Linked DNA regions of Homo sapiens: all the other regions are linked to region 3. Evidence: promoter capture Hi-C in 16 types of primary human blood cells and fetal thymus (Javierre and others, 2016). All regions are on one chromosome and are shown on one strand. The core of a region is centred on a gene start or on the middle of the fragment in contact, and the rest is flanking DNA. Distances in the headings are between cores, read along the strand shown.

Evidence for each region. The method cuts DNA at HindIII sites, captures the fragments that hold promoters and counts their contacts. A CHiCAGO score of 5 or more calls a contact.
Region 1: a contact is called between the fragment with the promoter of GINS4 here and the fragment with the promoter of AP3M2 in region 3, in 2 of 17 cell types (monocytes and neutrophils). The highest score is 5.7, in monocytes.
Region 2: the fragment with the promoter of GPAT4 here is called in contact with the fragment with the promoter of AP3M2 in region 3 in 1 of 17 cell types (naive B cells); the score reaches 5.6 in naive B cells.
Region 4: a contact is called between a fragment that was not itself captured here and the fragment with the promoter of AP3M2 in region 3, in 1 of 17 cell types (megakaryocytes). The highest score is 5.7, in megakaryocytes.

The regions. Positions count from the first base shown.
Region 1 is chr8:41,527,855-41,530,737 of GRCh38, reverse strand. It overlaps GINS4 (GINS complex subunit 4), which reads right to left and starts at 1,477. Exons shown (of 8, transcript NM_032336.3): 1 at 1,342-1,477; 2 at 440-554. The coding sequence starts at 535. RefSeq lists a silencer at 1,502-1,931. The HindIII fragment of the contact is 13,395 bases long and covers 1-2,883 here.
Region 2 is chr8:41,576,356-41,579,575 of GRCh38, reverse strand. It overlaps GPAT4 (glycerol-3-phosphate acyltransferase 4), which reads right to left and starts at 1,376. Exons shown (of 13, transcript NM_178819.4): 1 at 1,298-1,376. GPAT4-AS1 (GPAT4 and GINS4 antisense RNA 1) reads left to right here and starts at 1,208. Exons shown (of 3, transcript NR_125824.1): 1 at 1,208-1,270. RefSeq lists silencers at 870-1,009, 1,030-1,649. The HindIII fragment of the contact is 4,489 bases long and covers 1-2,097 here.
Region 3 is chr8:42,151,513-42,154,529 of GRCh38, reverse strand. AP3M2 (adaptor related protein complex 3 subunit mu 2) reads right to left here and starts at 1,467. Exons shown (of 9, transcript NM_006803.4): 1 at 1,425-1,467. RefSeq lists a silencer at 952-1,561 and an enhancer at 2,392-2,511. The HindIII fragment of the contact is 5,843 bases long and covers 1-3,017 here.
Region 4 is chr8:42,678,776-42,682,002 of GRCh38, reverse strand. No RefSeq gene overlaps it. Among named protein-coding and RNA genes, the nearest start is that of CHRNB3, 17 kb to the left of the region's middle. The HindIII fragment of the contact is 2,460 bases long and covers 209-2,668 here.

The DNA.
Region 1 (2,883 bases), core at 228-2,727, 620 kb after region 3:
AGAGCAGACGACTCAAGAAAAAACATGTGAGAAAAAGGAAAAATATGACCAGTTTTCCCTTACAGGCATTTCAGCATTTTCTTGCTAAACAGGCATTCTCCAGGGAAACAGCAGATGTTCAAGGGACTAAGGTAAAGAAGTTCAGGGACCTCTACAGTCCCTGAAAATATCACGTGGATCCTTGCTCTGTGAACTGTTCACTGAATGTGCCCAAAGCTGTCCCTTACTGACCCCACTTGGGGATGCTGTGTTTGATATGATGAGGTCTCTAACAGAGGATGTCCTTCTTGCTTCCCGTTTCCATGTAGATGGTAAGATCCAGTCCCTGTTCTAAAGTAAGCCCCAAATTCCGTTTCCTCATCTTGTGATCCCTGATATTCACAGTTGAACTAAATAAAAAGGCTGACTGGAGCAAAGGGATTCGATCTGGGATGCTTACCTGCTCCAATCTTTCAATGAGCTCTGCAGGAGTTAGGACCACTTCCTCACTACCCCCATCAGAGTCCTGTCCCAGGAAATCCACTTCTTCGGTCATCTTCTCTGAAACCAGGAACCTAATGAGAGGGAAAGAACCAATACTCTGCAATGCGTTTTCTAATTATCTGCAAGAACAGACATCTATCTGGAGAAAGGAAAGGTTTATTGAGGTTTCCTGGGGTTGTAGAGGCCCTTTAGCAAGTGGTGAGAGAACGCAGGGACTCTAGTTTTCCAGTGTCTGCCTCTTCCTCCAAGGCTTAGGTCAGGTATCCGTTTCTCAAACAAGCCTCCCCCTTACTTCTGTCCACCAAGAGCTGAGCACCCATCACACCATACAATCACTATTCATTTCTTTGACTTCCCAGTAGAGGTCTTGTTCCTCAGGGACGGGGTTCGTTTTAGTTCAAATACGAATCGCGCCTCTGCTCAGTGCCTGGCACTAAGCACTGGGGACGCAATGACGTGGGAAGCCCCTGCGCTCAGCACAGCGCTTGACTCCTAGCAAGCACTTAACATTATTAGGAGCTGGCCGGGCTCACGCCTGTAATCCCAGCACTTTGGGAAGCCGAGGCAGGAAGATACCTTGAGCCCAGGAGTTCGAGACCAGCCTGGGCAACATAGGGAGATCCTGTCTCTATAAAAACAAAAATTGTTAGGAAGATTAATCAATGCTAATTTCCCAGAGCCACAAGGGCCGGCGACATTAGACCAGTCGGCGATCCCAAAGGCCTAAGGAGGTGGATGGCGGGGACAAAGAAAGTCCCTGGGGTCGCAAGGAAACTGCGAACATCCCCCTCCCCTCCTCCCTCTCAGTGCCACCCACACAGGCCTGCCCTAGCCACAGAGGTCCCATTCGACGCTCACTCGGGGACCTGGGAGACAGCGAGGCACTCCACAGCAGCCGGCGGTAAGGACGGGGCGTTCGTGGGGACGCAGTCGGGGCACCAGGAAGCGGGAAGACAGAGGAACAAACTGCTCAAGGACTTGCCGGGACCAACTCAACCCTGCAACTTCTCAGCTCCCGCGCTACTCTCGCAAAGTTTCCGCCCAGGCACGACGTCATCGCGCAAGGGCGACGCTGACCAATCAAGGCCCGGGGGGAAGAGCGGGGCGGTCTCCTTGGGCCCGCCCACCCGGCGGGCGGGGACTGTCTTCGCGGCGGCCTGCAGTCCCAGCAACCCAAGGACTTGAGGCGGCGGGAGGCTGGTCCGGGTTGGCCCCGCCCACCTGGGGGCCGGCCGCTCCGCTGTGCGGTCCGGGTTGCACTACCCAAGAGCGTCGGGAGGGGGCGCCCGCCACCGCGGCCAAGGGGAGCGGCGGTGTCCGCCCCGGGGGGTCCCACCCAGAAGTATGCTGTTGAAAGCAGGCCGCTGCAGCCTCCTGGGCCGTCTCCACCCACAGCTCTCGTGGCTCTTTGGGTTCCTCCGTCTTTGCGGGGTTTCACCTGTGGTCAGTGTGGTCATTGCCTTCAGAATCTCCAGTATATTCCTTTTCATCTTTCTTGAGACAGGGTCTCGTTCTGGTGCCCAGGCTGGAGTGCAGTGGCACCACCACAGCTCACTGCAACCTCCGCCTCCCGGGCTCCAGCGATCCTCCCACCTCAGCCTCCGGAGTAGCTGGGACCACAGGCCAGCGCCACCACGCCCAGTTATTTTTTAATTAAAAAAAAAAAAAAAAAGAACTGTGGCGGGGTTGGGGGTGGGGAGGTTCTCCCTATGATGGCCAGGCTGGTCTCGAACTCAAGGATCCAAGCAATCCTCCCACCTCGGCCTCACAAAGTGGGTACTGGTTCTTGAAGCCTGGGATCGGACGACCAGCAGAAGCATCGCCTGGGAATCCGTGAAAATGCAGGTTCTCAGGCCCCACCCTGGCCCACCGAATCAGAAACTGGGGGTATTTCACCAGACCCAGGCCCTCCCGGTGACCCTGACACAGCTGAGGTTTGAGAATCACTGCTTTGGGGCCGGGCGCGGTGGCTCACGCCTGTAATCCCAGCACTTTGGGAGGCCGAGGTGGGCGGATCACGAGGTCAGGAGATCGAGACCATCCTGGCTAACATGGTGAAACCCCGTCTCTACTAAAAATACAAAAAAATTAGCCGGGCGTGGTGGCGGGCGCCTGTAGTCCCAGCTACTCGGGAGGCTGAGGCGGGAGAATGGCGTGAACCCGGGAGGCGGAGCCTGCAGTGAGCCAAGATGGCGTCACTGCACTCCAGCCTGGGAGACAGAGCCAGACTCCATCTCAAAAAAAAGAAAAAAAAAGAAAAAAGAAAAGAGAATCACTGCTTTGGGGCAATGCTTTCAACTCACCTTCTGGAGGGGAAAAGCACAAAAACCCATGTCTGTATATGTATATATTTTTTCCATCTTTGTGTGATCCAGTTTTTCTTCTCTGAGTTGCTGATTC
Region 2 (3,220 bases), core at 127-2,626, 570 kb after region 3:
GTGAGTCACCACGCCCGGCCATACTTTTTCTTTTAACCTGTTCTATCATGTTAAGATACCTTTTGCTGTGCTCTTTCTTCAACTCTACTGTGTTTCTTAGCTGAAGACCTCATGAGTAGGCTGTGTTCCAAAACAAAAAGCACCTTATGACTTGGTATGGTGGTTTTCATTATGGAACTGAAGCTACTTTTGACAGACTCATCTTGCATCAAGTTCTCCCTGAGACATACGGGAGGGGAAATGGGTGGGGTGTGTATGGCACAGGAATAGCCACAGTTAAGTGGCTGAGGAGGCCAGAACAAGTACATGCTGGTTCCCTATTCCATCTATTTCCCTGTGTCTGAAATTCTCCAAAATACAAAGTTAAAAAAGAAAAGAAAAGCACATCTCTTTCAAAGAGAGAAGTATATTTGATTGGCATTATTACAGGATTTTGTCTGGAGACTTTGGTATGGTATAACTGCTCTTCACACCATTTCCCTTGGATTGAGATAGAATCTACAAGACATGAAACTAAGGAGAGCTCCTCAAAGTTCAGCCAAAATTAAGGAAAATGAACCAAAAACAAAATTCCTCAAATGACCTCAAGGTTATCCATGAGAAGATCCATGGTAATACTTGGCAGAGGATGGAACTTATTTCCATCGTGCTACACCGTATGTCTCCTATAAGCTATTTTCTGCAACTTCTGAACAGCTAAACTTCAGCCCTCTGTGACATGGAAAGCGAGGAAATAAACAAGCCCCACTGGGAGAAGGATGCCTCAGAGGGTGCTGAAATAAAAAAGGAAAGGCAAGGGATTTCAGGAGTTAAGAAATCCTAAAGAAAAATGGGAGCATGCATTTGGAGAAGGAGAGGGTAAAGACATGCATCTTACGGCAGCCAGAGAACACAGGAAGGGGAATGACAGGGGAAGGCGCTTCCTGGTGCTCCAACGCCCAGCAGCCCTCGCCACCCACATCCCCGGACTCCCGGGGCGGGAGGGCTGCGCACACCTGGGACTTGGGGGAGGCGAGGGGCTCCGAGGAGCCGGGCTCGGAGAGCAGGCGAGCGGAGAGGCGGGCGGCCGGGGTTCGGGGCGGGCGCGGACCGTTCCATCCCGGACGGGGGGCACCCGCTCCACCCGCCGGGGATCCCCGGGGCGCGGCGATGGTGCCTCCTGACGCCGGCGCAGCGTCGCCGGGGCGTCCCAGACCGCAGGCCCCGCGCGGCCGCCCAAGCCCGGCTCCCACGTCCCGCTCTCGGCTCCCCGGAGGTCGGAGACTTTGAGGTAAGGGGCCAGCTCCCTCCTACTCACCGACCGCGAGGCTAGGCAGCTCCAAATCCCGCGGCGACCGCTCCCTCCCGCCCTTGCCGCCGCCGCGGGCCCAAGCTGCGTCAGGACGTGCGCGCGCCCGCCTTTGTCTGCGCCGCCCAACGTGACCCTGCGCCCACCGCCCCGCACGCTCCCGTCGGGCGCGCGCGGGCCGGCAGGGCGGGGGCCTAGGGAGAGGCGGGTGCCGCGTGGACCGGTCGCGGGTTGGGCGACCCGCGGAGTCGCCCTCTGGCGGACTAGGGGGCACTGCCGGGGGCGGGGCGGGGCAGGAGCAGGAGAGGCCGGGCCCTGGCTGTCCCTCCGCTGGCGCGTCCCTCTCAGAAAGCGGAGCGCTTCCCTGCGTTAGGACCCGATACTGGCTCCCTCCCCGGAGGTTCGCTTGTGTGTTCCGGAGAGGGTGAAATCAGGCTGGCACCGCGGGAAGAGGCTAGAGTCACTAAATCACCTTGTCCTCTTGAGGCTGCTGTCCGTATGCAGCGACATTCTGCCCGTTAGAGGACTCAGCTCAGGGCCTGGTACGCTCAAGATCTGTTAGCTACCAGCACCATCACCACGACCACCGTCATCACCAGCAGTATCCCTCAGCCTCGTCTACCTTGCTCGTCAAGCAGGGTGCTCCAGGAGTGGGTGTAGGCCACTTTCGCCCTGCCTGGCAGATGCAACTTTCCAACTTCCACCTCCACTTGGACCTGCTCTCTCTACTCAAGTCTAGCTGGTGGCTGCTGGAGTTTGCGTGTGTGTTTCTTACTATATCTTCTGACTTCGGACGCCTAACCCAAGCTTATTATCTCCCCTAAAATGGGACCTCCTTAAAATATATATTACCTTTCTTTTTCCTGTTCTTAAAAGACAGTTTGCCTTTAGTGCCAAGCCCTCTCCGCCGGTTTACGCTGTACACGGCTGTCAGATTGTCATTCCGTGCTAAATGCATAATCTGATAATGAAATCTTTAAAGTCCACATTCTTAGACCTCAAAATCTCTGTAAGAATAAAGGGCAGAGTATGGTAGTTCACGCCAGTAATCCCAGCGTTTTGGGAGGCCAAAGCAGGAGGATCGCTTGAGGCCAGGAGTTTGAGACTAGCCGGGGCAACGTAACGAGACCCCCACTTCTACAAAAATTTTGAAAATTAAAAAAAAATGGTGGGGGGAGCGGGGCGCGGGTAGCTCACGCCTGTAATCCCAGCACTTTGGGAGGCAGAGGCGGACAGATCACTTAAGGCCAGGAGTTTGAGACCAGCCTGGCCAACATGGTGAAACCCCGTCTCTACTAAAAATACAAAATTTAGCCGGGGGTGATGGCACGCACCTGTAATCCCAGCTACTCGGGAGGCTGAGACAGGAGAATTGCATGAACCCAGGAGGCAGATGTTGCAGTGAACTGAGATTGTGGCACTATACTCCAGCCTGTGTGACAGAGCGAGACCCAAACTCAAAAAAAAAAAAAAAAAAAAGAATAACCACTTAGCTCCAAAACACTGGACTACTTATCTCCACCAAATATAACTAAATGTTACCCATTTGGAACTGATCACGTATTTATTAACTCAATCACTTATCCATTCATTGAGCCCTTGTTACTCGCCCAGCTTTTTTGGGGATCCCAATTCAAGATTGAGTAATGCATGGCCACGTCTAATCGTCAACGACATTAAATTCCATAAGAGAAGAAACCACCGGGCGCGGTGGCTCACCCCTGTAATCCCAGCACTTTGGGAGGCTGAGGCGGGGGAATCACGAGGTCAGGCATTCGAGACCAGCCTGACCAACATGGTGAAACCCCGTCTCTCCGTCTCTACTAAAAATACAAAAATTAGCCGGGCGTGGTGGTGCGCACCTGTAATCCCAGCTATTCGGGAGGCTGAGGCAGGAGACTTGCTTGAACCCAGGAGGCGGAGGTTGCAGTG
Region 3 (3,017 bases), core at 218-2,717:
TCAAGACCAGGCCCAATCTTCCCCTCCTGCATGAGCCTGAAGATAGCCCTCCCTTGAATTCGAAACGATAATGATCAGTCATCTGACTGTCAATCATATACTCCCAGTTATCTTTACTATCGCCCAAATTGCATCCATTTAAAATACTACTTATCTGTGGGTGTCTATTTTCTCAACCGAACCGCAAACTCCTTGAAGAAAAGGGCCGTGCCTCATGTTTTGCGTTGCCTGACTGCAACACAATCAGTGTTCTTTGAAGAGGGCTTCCAAGAACACTGAATTTGATGTCATGTTTTGGCAACAGCTCACACATACACAAGAAATGCGCAGCTTAATACGATAGCCACTATGGGACCAGCGAGCACTTGAAAGGTGGCTGGTGCGGACTGAGGTGTGCTGTTAAGTGTAAGACACACGACAAATCTGAAAGGCTTTGCATGAAAAAAAAAATTTCAAATATCTTACCAATAATTTAATATTGATTATATGTTGTAATAACATTTTGGATATCCTGGGTTAAATCAAATATATTAAAATTAATTTAACCTGTTTTATTATTTTAAAGTGGTTACCAGAACATGTACAATTACATATGTGGTTTGCTTTCTATTTCTGCCCACCAGAATTGGTGGGAGGAATGGAAAGCTGCCCTTGGGGGTCTTTATTCATCCAATCAGAGCTATTCTCTGAGCACTCCTTAGGCACTTGTTAATGCAGTAAGACATTTAAAAAGATCCCTTGGGGCTCCCGCCTGTGATCCCAGTACTTAGGGAGGCCTCCGCGGGCAGACCGCTGGAGCTCACGAGTTCGAGATCAGCCCGGGCAACAGAGGGAGAACCCCGCCCCCTCCACCTCCAAAAAAAAAAAAAAATTTCCCTGGGGGACAGACACCCCAAGGCCCTCAGACGGTTGCATCTCTCTGGTGCCAGTCGCCAGGATGTGGCCATTCCGCGAACCGGCGCGGGTGGTCAAAACGCAGAGGCCTGCGGTGCCCAGCGCCGCCTGGAGGAGACAGCAGGAGGGAGAGACAGCCAGGCAGCCCGGGGTGCGAGGGAGAGGCAGCGGCCTAGGCAGGCGGTCCCTGCGCAGGCCCCGGCCCAGAGCCGGCGGCGACGGAGGCCGCGGGGCGCAGGCGGGCAGGGGCCTGGCTGAAGGGGCACGCGCGTTCCGGGGTGAAGAGCGCAGGGGTGCCGGGCCGCGCCAGCGAGCGCACGTGCGCTGCCATGGCAACAGTGTCCCCTCCGCCCGCAGCCGCGGCGCCGGGAAGGACGCCCTCCCCGAACTCTGAACCCGGCCCCTCACCTCTCCCCGCCGCGTCCGCAGCCCTGAGAGGCCGCCCGGCTGCATCCTGAGACCCCGCCCCGACCCTCGCGCGCCCCCACTCCTGCCCCCTCTCCAGGCTCGGGGTCGTCCCTACTCCTCACCTGGCCTTGCTGCTCTCAGCGCCCACTGCTCCTAGGCGCGGACAGGCCCCGCCCCGCCCGCCGCGCGCGCTGAGGCAGCCGCTCGCCCGCTGATTGGCCGGCCCGCGGCCTGGCTACCGCTCCGCCCACGATCTGCGCCTGAAGGCCGCTGATTGGGTATCTGGGAGCCGCTCCTCCCCTCTGATTGATCGCTGTTGGCGGCTTGCCCTGTTGTCGGGCTCGAGTCCCCCGATTGGCCCTGTTGAGGCCACGGTCATCTCCGATTGGTACAGCTCCGAGACCCCGAGTCCTGATTGGAGGTCGAAGACAGTGCGTGCTGCTCGGCCCCACTCATCCAGTCACAAAGGGCTGGGGCGGTCGCCGCGCTCGCGTGTTTGCGGAGTGCGCCTGGAGGGGGCGCTGGAGTATGTGTGTGCCGGGGCGGGGTGGCTTCCGGGCACGAGTTGCTGACAGCGCCTCGCGGTTGATAAATCCTGAGGGCGGCGGCTACCCTGCACTCCATCGGTGCCTTTGGGAAGCGCCGCCTTCTCTGTTGTACCCGGCCGTGGGTCAGGTCGGCGCGGCTGGCGGTGGAGTCTCGGACACCGAGCCCTGGACCCCGACTCTGGAAGCCCCCAGCCCCACTGGGCCGCGGCAGGGCGCCCACCCTCCACAATCTCAGTTCCCAGCCGGGGAGTGAGGGGCTGGGCGGGTCTCTCCACCGCTTTGGAGACCTCAGGACTTGGATACGCTTTTGAGTGGTCCCAGTCGTCCTGATCCACGAAGGCGTGGAGTGGAAGTCAGGACCAGGGGTCGCCCCAGTGACGCAGGAAGTCAAGCCCAGATGCGGTGAGGCGTCGCCAGCCTTGGACCCAGCAGTGGGCGCTGGTGACAGTGGCGACCTCGCCGATGAGAGGTTCGCCCTCCCTAGCATTAGTTGTCACTTTGGTGAAATGGAGCGTGGGTGGCAGCTCCTCCACACACAAGCCCTTTGCTGAGGTGGTGCGGGGGGTTCTCTCCACGCTTGCTAAGGGCAGGTAGTTGGCTGACTTTGAACTATGAAGAAAAGCCAGAAACAAAATGGCAGAATGGTATGACTCTGGGTGGGCTTAGGGACGCTGGTGCCAGAGGACTTGGCTTGAACCCGCTCCAACACTTACAACCTGAGTGACCGTGAGAAAGAACTGTAACTCCTCTAAACTTCAAGTTCCTCACTTCTCAAATAAGAACGTGAATAGTACCTCCCTCCTAGAGTTGTGAGGATTGAGTTAGAAAATGCTAGCAATTGTTATGCCCTAAGGAACAGCACAAGATACAATAACACGTGATAATGTGTGTCGAAGGTGCAGAAATGCAGTCGCTGCCGTGAGAATTTCTCATTCATTCACTGAATTAACATTTGCCGAAAACCCCCACGTATCGACCTGTGCTGGATGCTGGAGATGCTGCAATGACTGCTGTCACAGGCATTGTCCCTGTGGTTACAGGGCCCAGCAGGAAAGACAAATGAGAAGCAAGGGATTGCAATGCAGTGTGATGAATAAGGAACGCATAGGGGGTGGGAGGAGTGCTGTAGAGATGGCTGACCTAGAGTCAGGGAAGACCCTCTACCTT
Region 4 (3,227 bases), core at 189-2,688, 530 kb before region 3:
GGGCTTGGTGGGAGGTATTTGGGACACGGAGGCAGGTCCCTTGTGAATGGCTTGGTGCTGTCCTCACAGTAATGAGTGAGTTCACGCTCTGTGAATTCAGACAAAATCTGGTAATTTAAAAGCGCTGGCACCTCCTCCTTCTCCCTAGCTCCCTCTGTCACCATGAGAGACGCTGCCCCTTCTTCCCTTTCCTCCCTGATTGGAAGCTTCCTGAAGCTGCCCCAGAAGCAGATGGGGCACTGTGCTTCCTGTACAGCCCACAGAACTGTGAGCCAAATACATTTTTTTTCATAAATTACCCAGTCTCAGCATTCCCTTATAGCAATACAAAACAGACTGACGATGGACATATAAAACCTCTTTTGATTATTTTCTATATTCAGAAGGGGAACGGCTGGACCATATCCCATAGTAATTCTATTCTTAATGTTTTCAGGAACCACCATAATGTTTTCCACAGCGGCCGCACCATTTCACATATCCACCAGAGGCCCACAAGAGTTCCAGTTTCTCCACATCCTCACCAACACATTATTATTATTATTATTATTATTATTTTGACAGTAGCCTTCCTAGGCCATGGGGCTTTTAAGCTGTATGATTAAGGAAATTTGTGCAAATGCAGTTTTTAAAACTCTCTTGGCCAGGTGCGGTGGCTCATGCCTGTAATCCCAGCACTTTGGGAGGCCGAGGCGGGCAGATCACCTGAGGTCGAGTTCCAGACCAGCCTGACCAACATGGTGAAACCCTGTCTCTACTAAAAATACAAAAATTAGCCAGGTGTGGTGGCAGGCGCCTGTAATCCTAGCTACTTAGGAGACTGAGACAGGAGAATCGCTTGAACCTGGGAGGCAGAGCTTGCAGTGAGTCGAGATCGTGCCATTCCCATTGCACTGCAGCCTGGGCGACAGAGTGAAACTCCATCTCAAAAAAATAAATAAATAATAAATAAATAAATAAAACTCTTTTAATGGGAGCTGAGTGGGGGAGAGGAGAAAAATGCACTTGTAAACAGAAACCTGACCTATGCTTTGAGGAGATTTCTTTCACCCTCCAGCTTTTCTGCACTCTCCTTTTTCACTTTTTCTTCTTTTATTCAGCTGACATATCTGTGCCTTCCTCGTTTGCTCTTATCCAATCCTCCATCATATAGAACAATCATCTTACCCATGTGGCAAGCTGTTTCCTTCTTAAAACTACCAGGATCTTTCTTGAGCCAAGAACCAGAATGAACTACATTCTCAATCAGGTTTTAAGGGTAGACCTCTAGGTGAGTTCTTGGGTGCTTCTGAAATCTCACCCATCATTTTCCAAAATGACAGAGTAAATGTACCTTGGTTGAAGGAATGTGTAAAGCCACTGTTGAGATGCTATAAAGAAATACCCGAGACTGGGTGATTTATAGAGAAAAGAGGTTTAATTTGCTCAGGGTTCTGCGGGTTGTACAAGCATGGCTCCAGCATCTGTTCAGCTTCCTATAAGGCCTCAGGGGGCTTTTACTCCAAGAAGGAGGTGAAGCAGGAGCTGGTATCCCACATGGCAGAGGGGGGGCAAGAGAGCGAGTGGGGAGAGGCCACGCACTTTTTATTTTTTTTGAGACGGAGTCTCACTCTGTTGCCCAGGCTGGAGTGCAGCAGCATGATCTCGGCTCACTGCAACCTCTGCCTCTTGGATTCAAGCAGTTGTCTACCTCAGCCTCCTAAGTAACTGGGATTACAGGCTCGCGCCACCATGCCCGGCTAATTTTTGTATTTTTAGTAGAGACAGGGTTTCACAATGTTAGCCAGGCTGGTCTTGAACTCCTGACCTCGTGATCTGCCTGCCTCAGCCTCCCAGAGTGCTGGGATTACAGGCGTGAGCCACCGCGCCCGGCCGGGGCCACACGCTTTTAAACAACCAGATCTCACAGGAACTCACTCACTATTGCAAGGACAGCACCAAGGGGAAGGTGCTAAACCATTCATGAGAAATCCACCCCCATGATCCAATCACCTCCCAGCAGGCCCCACAGCATGAAAACTGGGTGGGGACAAATATCCAAATGATGTCAAGGAGCAATAAGGCATAATAATATGGGAATCCAAAGTGTTGGGTTTTTGTTTTTGTTTTTGCGACTGCTGAGGACTATTGGAATACTTTGTCTTATCCAAATAGCTGTTGTTTGAGGCTGGGCACGGTAGTTCACACCTGTAATCCCAGCACTTTGGGAGGCCGAGGCAGGTGGATCACTTGAGGTCAAGAGTTCAAGACCGGCCTAGTCAACATGGTGAAACCCCATCTCTACTGAAAATACAAAAAATTAGCCTGGCATGGTGTGCATGCCTGTAATCCCAGCTACTCAGGAGGCTGAGGCAGGAAAATCGCTTGAACCCAGGAGGCAGAGTTGGCAGTGAGCCAAGATTGCACCACGGCACTCCAGCCAGAGTGACAGAGGGAGATTCTGTCTCAAAAAACAAAAACAAAGACAAAACCCCACATAGCTGTTGTTTGAGTGCAATTACGTTGTTTGGATGCAATTATGACTTAAAGTTTTTTTCTGACATAAAAGTTTTTTCTTTGTTTTTGTGTTTTAAGTGTTCATTTGCTGCTAGCATAAACTTCAGCCCTCTTTTGTTTGGTCATTACACCCCTAACCTGGCAGGGGCCTATAAGCTGCACAAATTAAGCTTCTAGTTAGTGAGGTGCATGAGCCTCCCCTTAGCACAGTTCTGTAAATCATAGAATTTTATTATTTTATTTCAGACAGGGCTGAGCACGCCACAGCCTTGACATCCCAGGTTCAAGCAGTCCTCCCACCTCAGTCTCCTTAGTAGGTGAGACTACAAGTGTGCACCACAACACCTGCTAATTTTTACATTTTTTTATAGAGATGGGGGTCTCACTCTGTTGGCCAGGCTGGTCTCAAACTCCTGAGCTCAAGTGATCCTCCTGCCTCAGCCTCCCAAAGTGCTGGGATTACCGGCATAAACCACTGCACCTGGATTGAAAATCTCTTAAAACTTTTGTTGAATGAGAATGAGGCAAATCTAAGCCTGCTATACATCTACTTAGGATTTTAGTCACCTTTTTAAGGTGTGTGGGTATCTCTTTATTGCTAAGGGTTACCTAAAAGAAAGTCATTCTGATATTATAACTACTCTGTTCTGAGTCCATTCCAAGAACAATGTGCCCCTTACCCAAGTTTATGGGCTGATAGAGGGAGACAGAAAGATAATTGTGGACTTTTC